Regions from separate parts of the Homo sapiens genome. Here region 1 is linked to region 2. The links are contacts of gene promoters, found by promoter capture Hi-C in blood cells and fetal thymus (Javierre and others, 2016). All regions are on one chromosome and are shown on one strand. The core of a region is centred on a gene start or on the middle of the fragment in contact, and the rest is flanking DNA. Distances in the headings are between cores, read along the strand shown. Region 1 has its middle 16 kb from the start of CTH. Region 2 holds the start of LINC03102 (long intergenic non-protein coding RNA 3102).

What was found. The method cuts DNA at HindIII sites, captures the fragments that hold promoters and counts their contacts. A CHiCAGO score of 5 or more calls a contact.
Region 1: a contact is called between a fragment that was not itself captured here and the fragment with the promoter of LINC03102 in region 2, in 1 of 17 cell types (naive CD8 T cells). The highest score is 5.9, in naive CD8 T cells.

Annotation. Positions count from the first base shown.
Region 1 is chr1:70,393,037-70,396,883 of GRCh38, reverse strand. No RefSeq gene overlaps it. Among named protein-coding and RNA genes, the nearest start is that of CTH, 16 kb to the left of the region's middle. The HindIII fragment of the contact is 3,884 bases long and covers 326-3,847 here.
Region 2 is chr1:70,358,254-70,362,239 of GRCh38, reverse strand. It overlaps LINC03102 (long intergenic non-protein coding RNA 3102), which reads left to right and starts at 1,803. Exons shown (of 2, transcript NR_183713.1): 1 at 1,803-1,943; 2 at 2,245-2,681. All of the region lies in intron 1 of ANKRD13C-DT (ANKRD13C divergent transcript), which reads right to left. RefSeq lists a silencer at 1,678-1,871 and an enhancer at 3,108-3,167. The HindIII fragment of the contact is 2,416 bases long and covers 864-3,279 here.

The sequences.
Region 1 (3,847 bases), core at 1,018-3,517, 34 kb before region 2:
CTAGTCTGTCTGTATTGCTTCCATTCTGCTATCAGAAAGAACTTTGAAAACGAAAATGCAAAACTGATCATAGTATGCCCCGGTTTAAAACTGTTCAGTGATTTGCATAATACAAAGTTTGCATTCCTTCACCTACCATCCAAAACCCATCATGATCTTGCCTTCCCTACCCTTCTCCAACCATACCATGCTACATTCAGTTCCTTGAATATGCCAATATCCTTTCATGATTATGAGTCTTTATACATATTGTTATCCTGGAATTTTCCTTCCCCTTTCCAGATGAACTAACACTCATCTGATTCTCTACATCTCAGCTCAAGCTTTTCCTTTTCTAGTTAAAATATACCTGAAGCTACTACCCCCAGCATTAGTTTCCCTACCACAGATGTGGTCTCAATAAGAATTCTTATTGTGTTTCATTGTAATTGCCTATTTAAATGTCTTTTGCTAAGTTATGCATTTCTGAAAGTAACGGAGCAATATTTTATCTTAGTGTCACCAGCATCAAGTTCTGTATCTGTCATACAGAAAATGCCCCATAAATATTTGTTAAATGACTGAATAAATGCTAGGCAATCAAGGGGATACCAAGACTTAATCTTTGTCCTGAAGAAGTCTAAAAAATAAATAATCAGAATACATCAGTATCACCAAGTTATTTACTGTGTTATTTGCTTTAAATGAAGCCAACTTTTTAATAAAGGAACTTTGTTCCAAAATGAATTATAAACCAGCATATGTAGGAAATCTACAAATAGATAGGCTGCTGCTGCTTAAAGCCCACTGGAGTGATTTTTCTGAAGTATAGATCTGTCCAAAGAAAAAAATGAATATGAAAACATAAGAAAAGTCATTAAGATGGGAGGAAAAATGGGACAGTAGAAAAAGTAAGCTAGGCCGGGTTCTGTGGCTCATGCCTGTAATCCCAGCACTTTGGGAGACCGAGGCGGGCAGATTACTTGAGGTCAGGAGTTCGAGACCAGCCTGGCCAACATGGTGAAACCCTTCTCTACTAAAAATACAAAAATTAGCTGGCATGGTGGCAAGCACCTTTAATCCCAGCTACTCGGGAGGCTGAGGTGGGAGAATTGCTTGAACCCGGGAGGCGGAGGTTGCAGTGAGGCGGAGATCGTGCTACTGCACTCCAGCCTGGGTGACAGAGAGAGACCCTGTCTCAAAAAAAAAAAAAAAAAAGAGAGAGAGAGAGAGAAAGTAAGCTAGACTGATTTGGTCCTCCTCTAGTTGCAGTTCAAGAAAAAAATGGAGAAAAAATAAGCATATCTGCTACTGCTTCTAAGTCTTATATCTTCAGATTGACACTCATAAACCAAAAAGAGTTTGCCTACTACATAACCACCTTATTTAAATGGCAAAAAACCAAATTATTAGCTTTGGACTCAGTGGCTCACACCTGTAATCTCAGCTACTTGGGAGACTGAGGCAGGAGGCTGGCTTGAGGCCAGGAGTTTGAGGCCAGCCTGAGCAACATGTTGAGACATCATCTCTAAAAGACCTTTTTTAAAAATTAGCTGCGCATGGTGGCATTGTCTGTAGTCCCAGCTACTTGGGAGGCTGAGGCGGGAAGATCCCTTGAGCCCAGGAGTTTGAGGATGCAGTAATCTATGATTGAAACACTGCACTCAAGCCTGGCTGGCAGAGAGAGACCCTGTCACTAAAAAAATTTTTTTTTATTATTTAACCTTAAAGACTACTGGGTAATTTTATCCAATTATATTGGAGCATTTTTGAGTTTCTAGTAGAATAGTTTTTATTATAAATAGTTCTGAAGTCATGCTCTCCCATTTATAACTTCATATTTACTTATTAAAAATGTCTTTAATCTTTACAGGACATTTTTTTGAGACTAGATACAGCCCCTGAGGCATTTTTTCCATAAGCAGAAATTCTAAGTCCATTTCCCTGTTTCTTGCTAAATGTTCGCTTATTAAAACAGAGCCTTAATCAAAAGTTTTGGGTCACAAGCATTAGGGTGGATAATATCACCATCCAGTCATTCGCTCAAAAATTTTATTTTATTTATTGTGTTCACTGCAACCTACCCCCACCCCCCACCCGGATCGCTTGAGCCTGGAAGGTGGAAGCTGTGTGAACTGAGTTGAGTAAGACCGTATCACACACACACAAAGACAAACTTAGTCCCTAGTGTTGAACAGTTTACAGGAGAGTGAGAGAGTTAGACCAAACAACTATAACACATAGAGTCTTTTTTTTATGGGGGGACAGAGTCTTGCTATGTCGCCCACGCTGGAGTGCAAAGCCACGATCTCAGCTCACTGCAACCCCCGCCTCCCAGGTTCAAGCGATTCTCTTGCCTCAGCCTCCCCAGTAGCTGGGACTACAAGCGCTCGCCACCATGCCCAGCTAATTTTTGTATTTTTAGTAGAGACAGGGTTTCACCATGTTGGCCAGGCTGGTTTTGAATTCCTGACCTTGTGATTCACCCACCTTGGCTTCCCAAAGTGCTAGGATTTACAGGTGTGAGCCAAGGCGCCCGGCCTGTAGAGTCATTTTTATAAAGTATCATTATGACATTACCCAACTGATACTATGGTTGATTCCTTCATTTAAACCCTCAGAGACACAAGCACCTCCACTGCCTTGACTGTCTCTTTCTTAGATTACTACCACAGCAGCCAAATTGACCTCATTTCTTCCTTCTCACAGTCCACCCTCAACATAGCAACCCCAGTGATCCTTTTAATACATGTCCAGTTATGTCCCTCCTCCTTAAGACTCTAATGTCTTTACATCTCACTCAGAGTAAAAGCCAAAGTTTTTATTTTTATTTTTATTTATTTTTTACTTTTGAGACGGAGTCTCGCTCTGTCGCCCAGGCTGGAGTGCAGTGGCCTGATCTCTGCTCACTGCAAGCTCCGCCTTCCAGGTTCACGCCATTCTCCTGCCTCTGCCTCCCCAGTAGCTGGGACCACAGGCGCCCGCCACCACACCCGGCTAATTTTTTTTGTATTTTTAGTAGAGACGGGGTTTCAGCATGTTAGCCAGGATGGTCTGGATCCCTAGACCTCGTGATCCGCCCGCCTCGGCCTCCCAAAGTGCTGGGATTACAGGCGTGAGTCACCGCGCCCGGCCAAAGCCAGAGTTTTTTAATTGCCCTACGATATTCTCTCTGCTGTTATCTCCTACTTTTCTGTCCTCCGTTTAAAGTGGGTTCCTTGCCTATTCCCTGAACAAGTCAGGTATGCTCCTGCACAGGGCCTTTGCACAAACTACTCCCTCATTCCTGCTACTGTGGGAATACCTTTCCCCCAAATAGCCCACAGCTGTTTCCCCCATCACCTCTAGGTCTTTGCTCAAATGACACCTCCTTCTCAGTGAGACTACCCTGACTACACTATTTCAAATTTCAACCCATTTTCTTGTAAATTTCCTTTCTTGAGACAGGATCTCACTCTGTTTCCCAGGCTAGAGTGCACTAGTGTGATCTCGGCTCACTGCAGCCTCAACTTCCTGGGCTCAAGCGATCCTCCACCTTAGCCACCTGAGTAGATGGGACTACAGGTATGTGCCACCATGCTTAGCTATTTTTTAAAAAAATGTTTATAGAGATCAGGTCTCACTGTGTTGCCCATGCTTATCTTAAACTCCTGGCCTCCGGCAATCCTCCCATCTTGGCCTCCCAAAGTGCTGGGATTATAGGCATGAGTTACCACATCCAGCCTCCTCCCCAAATCTTGATGTCCCTTATTTTGCTCTAATTTCCTCATAGCACTTATTACTTCCTAGAAGACTGTAGATTTATAAACTACTTATTTATTGTGTTTATTAGGTGTTATCTGTCTCCTCGCTAGAATTAATGTCTATA
Region 2 (3,986 bases), core at 554-3,053:
TATCTGTCTCAAAGGAATTTCTTCCTTCAGGAACTTCCAGCTGTTATTGGCTCTGGTTTCCTTGGCAACCCCTGCTTCTCAGATTTTTTTTCTGATTACTTAAGAGAAATTTTACAAAATCACTGATAACCACTGATCAGAAACCGTAGAAGAAAGGGAAAGTGCTCTGCATTGCCTCTGAGAAAGGAAGGGGGCAGATTTAGAGGAAAGAGAAAAATACTGAGACCCAGGGAGATGGAAGTAAAATGTGTGAATTAAGTATTGATTTACATGGTTTGTTATTTTCATCTGTCAGTGTACTGCTGTGTCGTCAGATTTCAGAGACAATTACCTCATTAGTTAGATAGCCCTATCATCTATCAAACAAAATACTCCTAGATCTTGTTCAACCATTGTGGAATGTAGGAAATCATATTCCAGATTATTGTGAGAATATAAAACACAAATCTTCAGAGAAGATGAAAGAAAAAAGATGTAGACTAAACTTGCACTAATATTTACATTAGAAACATTATTAGTATGCAATGCAATGAGAATTGAGTAAGGTTAGTAACTACAGATCCTAATTGGAAGTCTGTTGATATATTTAAAAAATATAACGAGTGAGATTTTATTTTGTACAGTACTGCTGTTCTGTATTTCATGTTACCATACTACTGCTTTTGTTAAATGAAGACACCAGGACAGGGATTAGGTGCTTTGTGTAGGGCTAATAGAGATACATAAATTTCTGGCAAAATTCACAACGTTCTTTCTTAGAGACAGATTTAACTGTCTAGTCAGTGTTTGGTGTTGGTGAGCACATAACTATCTAACAAAACTCTCATTAGAAAAAGTTGAAAAACATTCATTTTTCAGAAGCTTTTTGCTATTCAAGGCAAATTGAGCATTATTGAGTTAACTACACCAGGAGAGAAATTAATTTGCTAATTTGTAGAACTACAGAGTATTACCTAGCAAATTCAGTAGTTTAGTTCTCAGGGTTTTTTTTTTTTTCCTTTTGGCATGGAGTCTAGCTCTGTTGCCCAGGCAGGAGTGCAATGGCACAATCTCGGCTCACTGCAACCTCTGCCTCCCAGGTTCAAGCGATTCTCCTGCCTCAGCCTCCCAGGTAGCTTGGATTATAGGGGTCCACCACCACGTCCGGCTAATTTTTGTATTTTTAGTAGAGACGGGGTTTCGCCATGTTGGCCAGGCTGGTCTCGAACTCCTGGCCTCAGGTGATCCACCCGCCTCAGCCTCCCAAAGTGCTGGGATTACAGGCGTGAGCCACTGCGCCTGGCCAGTAGTTTAGTTCTATACTTGAATTGATGGATTGCATTCTATCTTGTAAAATTTGAATAAAAAGTAAATACAGTGTTTACCAGTGAAGTTATTTACTCATTACATATTGATATAATTGATAATCACTACATATTTTATCATATTGAATTCAAGACACTGTGATAACAGATTTTTTTGAAGCAAAATCCTGTTTTAAGTCTTTGGATATAGTACTTTTGCTGACCACTCTTGCATTTGTCTCTCCAACATTATTCCCCACCTCATTCCCATTATGAAACAGTTCACTGTTTGGAGAGCTGGGCCCCACCTCCGGCTCCGAGATCAATCCTGATTGGGTGAAACTAATCTGAGTAACCCCTCCTTCACAGGGGTTTGTCAGATAACCCAGGCTTGAGCCAATCACCGTTCTCTGGGACACAGATTGGACTGAGTTATCTTGTAACTGTCATACTCCAGATTTATGTGGGAGCAGGAACTCCTTTGGACCTTAAGGAGGAAGCACGTGGCTGCTTTTACCTGCTGGCAGTTATCTTGTGTTCTTGAAGGAAGCAGGCCTGAGGAGGACTCCTCATACAGAGAGAAACACCGAGAGATTCACTGAAAAACTGACATGGGATCCTGAGGGGCCACTCTTGAAGACTTATCTCTGCACCTTTCTGGTATGTAAGTCAATACATTCCTTTAATTTAACCCTGTTTCAATTGAATTTATTGTTACTTCTACATGAAAAACAAAAAGTCCTAAATGATATATCTACTCTTTGGCTTCATGTAAGAATTCAAGAGTGTAGCAGCTAATTTCAGTGTAGTTATATTGGGATTATTTAAGAAGTTTATTTAGCATCTCATTACTGAGTCTGCAGTTGTCTTAGTACCTTGTAGATACTTGGGGTTTTGTGTTCTAATAGACTGATTAATTCAACAACTGCTTATTATTAATATAAGCATTCACTCCCTGTAGGGCACTGTGCATACAGCAATGATCAGCATGATTCCAGTGCTCAGAGAGCTCCAAGGATTAGTTGAGACCAGACAAGAATATCAAGGAGGCATGCAGAAGTTACAATGGGAAATCAAAAAGAAGACAAAGGAGGGACACCTAATTCAGAACGATGGGTTTGTTGGATAGGAGAGAAAAGGAGACGAATGGGCAGGTATCATCAAAGATTCCTAAGAAGAAGTTCCTAACTTCTGTTTTTGTGCCATTGACTCTTTGGCAGTGTGGAGAAACCCAGGGACCCATTTTCAGAACAGTGTTTTTAAATGCATAAAATATTTTGGATTAAAAGGAAACTCTGAGTATTGAAATACCTAACAAAATATTTTAAAAGCAAATTTGTAATACAGTAATGTATATGCTTCTTTATTAACTAATTAAAGAACAAGATATAGCAATGAGCATACCTATTAAGATAATTTTAGAGGTACTAATGACTATAAATGAAATTTTGAGTTGTCTGCAGCAACTGTTATGTGAAATGAAAATACCTGTGGTTTTTTTGGTTGTGAAGTCACAGGTACTACTAATGCTAATACTATTGTGGTTTGTGGCATACGTTCATAATAGAATGACATGCTAAATTTTATTTGGAAAGTTAGTTCAACACAATTTCCTGGCTCTGAATTCTATGCCAAGTTAAAAAAAAATTTGTGCTAAGAAGGGATAAAATTTGATGTAATTCTTTTATTTATTTATTTATTTTTTTAGACAGAGTCTCGCTCTATCGCCCAGGCTGGTGTGCAGTGGTGCAATCTCACTGCAACCTTTGCCTCCTGGGTTCAAGCCATTCTCCTGCCTCAGCCTCCCGAGCAGCTGGGACTACAAGCAGACGTCACCATGCCTGGCTGATTCTTTTTGTATTTTTCAGTAGAAATGGGGTTTCACCATGTTGGTCAGGCTGATCTTGAACTCCTGACCTCAAGTGACTTGCCCACCTCGGCCTTCCAAAGTGCTGGGATTACAGGCATGAGCTACCACGCCCAGCCCCAGAAAGCTTTTCTGATCATCCAATTTCTATTTTCCCCAAATAGAATTAATGACTTCCTTTTCTATATTGTATTGGGAGCTTATATAATTTCAATCCTTGTATTTTTCATAATGTATTACAATCATATTTCTATCTTTTTTATAATATATTGTAATCTTACATTTCTGTCATTTTTACAAGCCCTTAAAAATAATGGATGGGGCCAAGTGCAGTGGCTCACACCTGTCATCTCAGCACTTTGGGAGGCTGAGGTGGAAGGATCACCTGGGCCCAGGAGTTCAAGACCAGCCTGACCAACATAGTGAGACACGGCCTCTATAAAAAATAATAATAATAATGAATGGGCTGGGGGCAGTAGCTCACACCTGTAATCCCAACACTTCAGGAAGCCGAGGTGGGTAGATGGCTTGAGTCCAGGAGTTTGAGACTAGCCTGGGTGACATGGCCAAACCCAGTCTCTACAAAAAAATACAAAAATTAGCTGGGCCCTGTAGTCCCAGCACTTGGGAGGCTGAGGCGGGAGGATCCACTTGAGCATGGGAGGTGGAAGTTGCAGTGAGCTGAGATCATGCCACTGCACTCCAGCCTAGCTGACAAAATGAGACTCAAAAAACAACAAAAAATAAGTCTTGGTGTGGTGGCTCATGCCTGTAATCCCAGCACTTTGGGAGGCCGAGGTGGGCGGATCACCTGAGGTCAGAAGTTCGAGACTCAG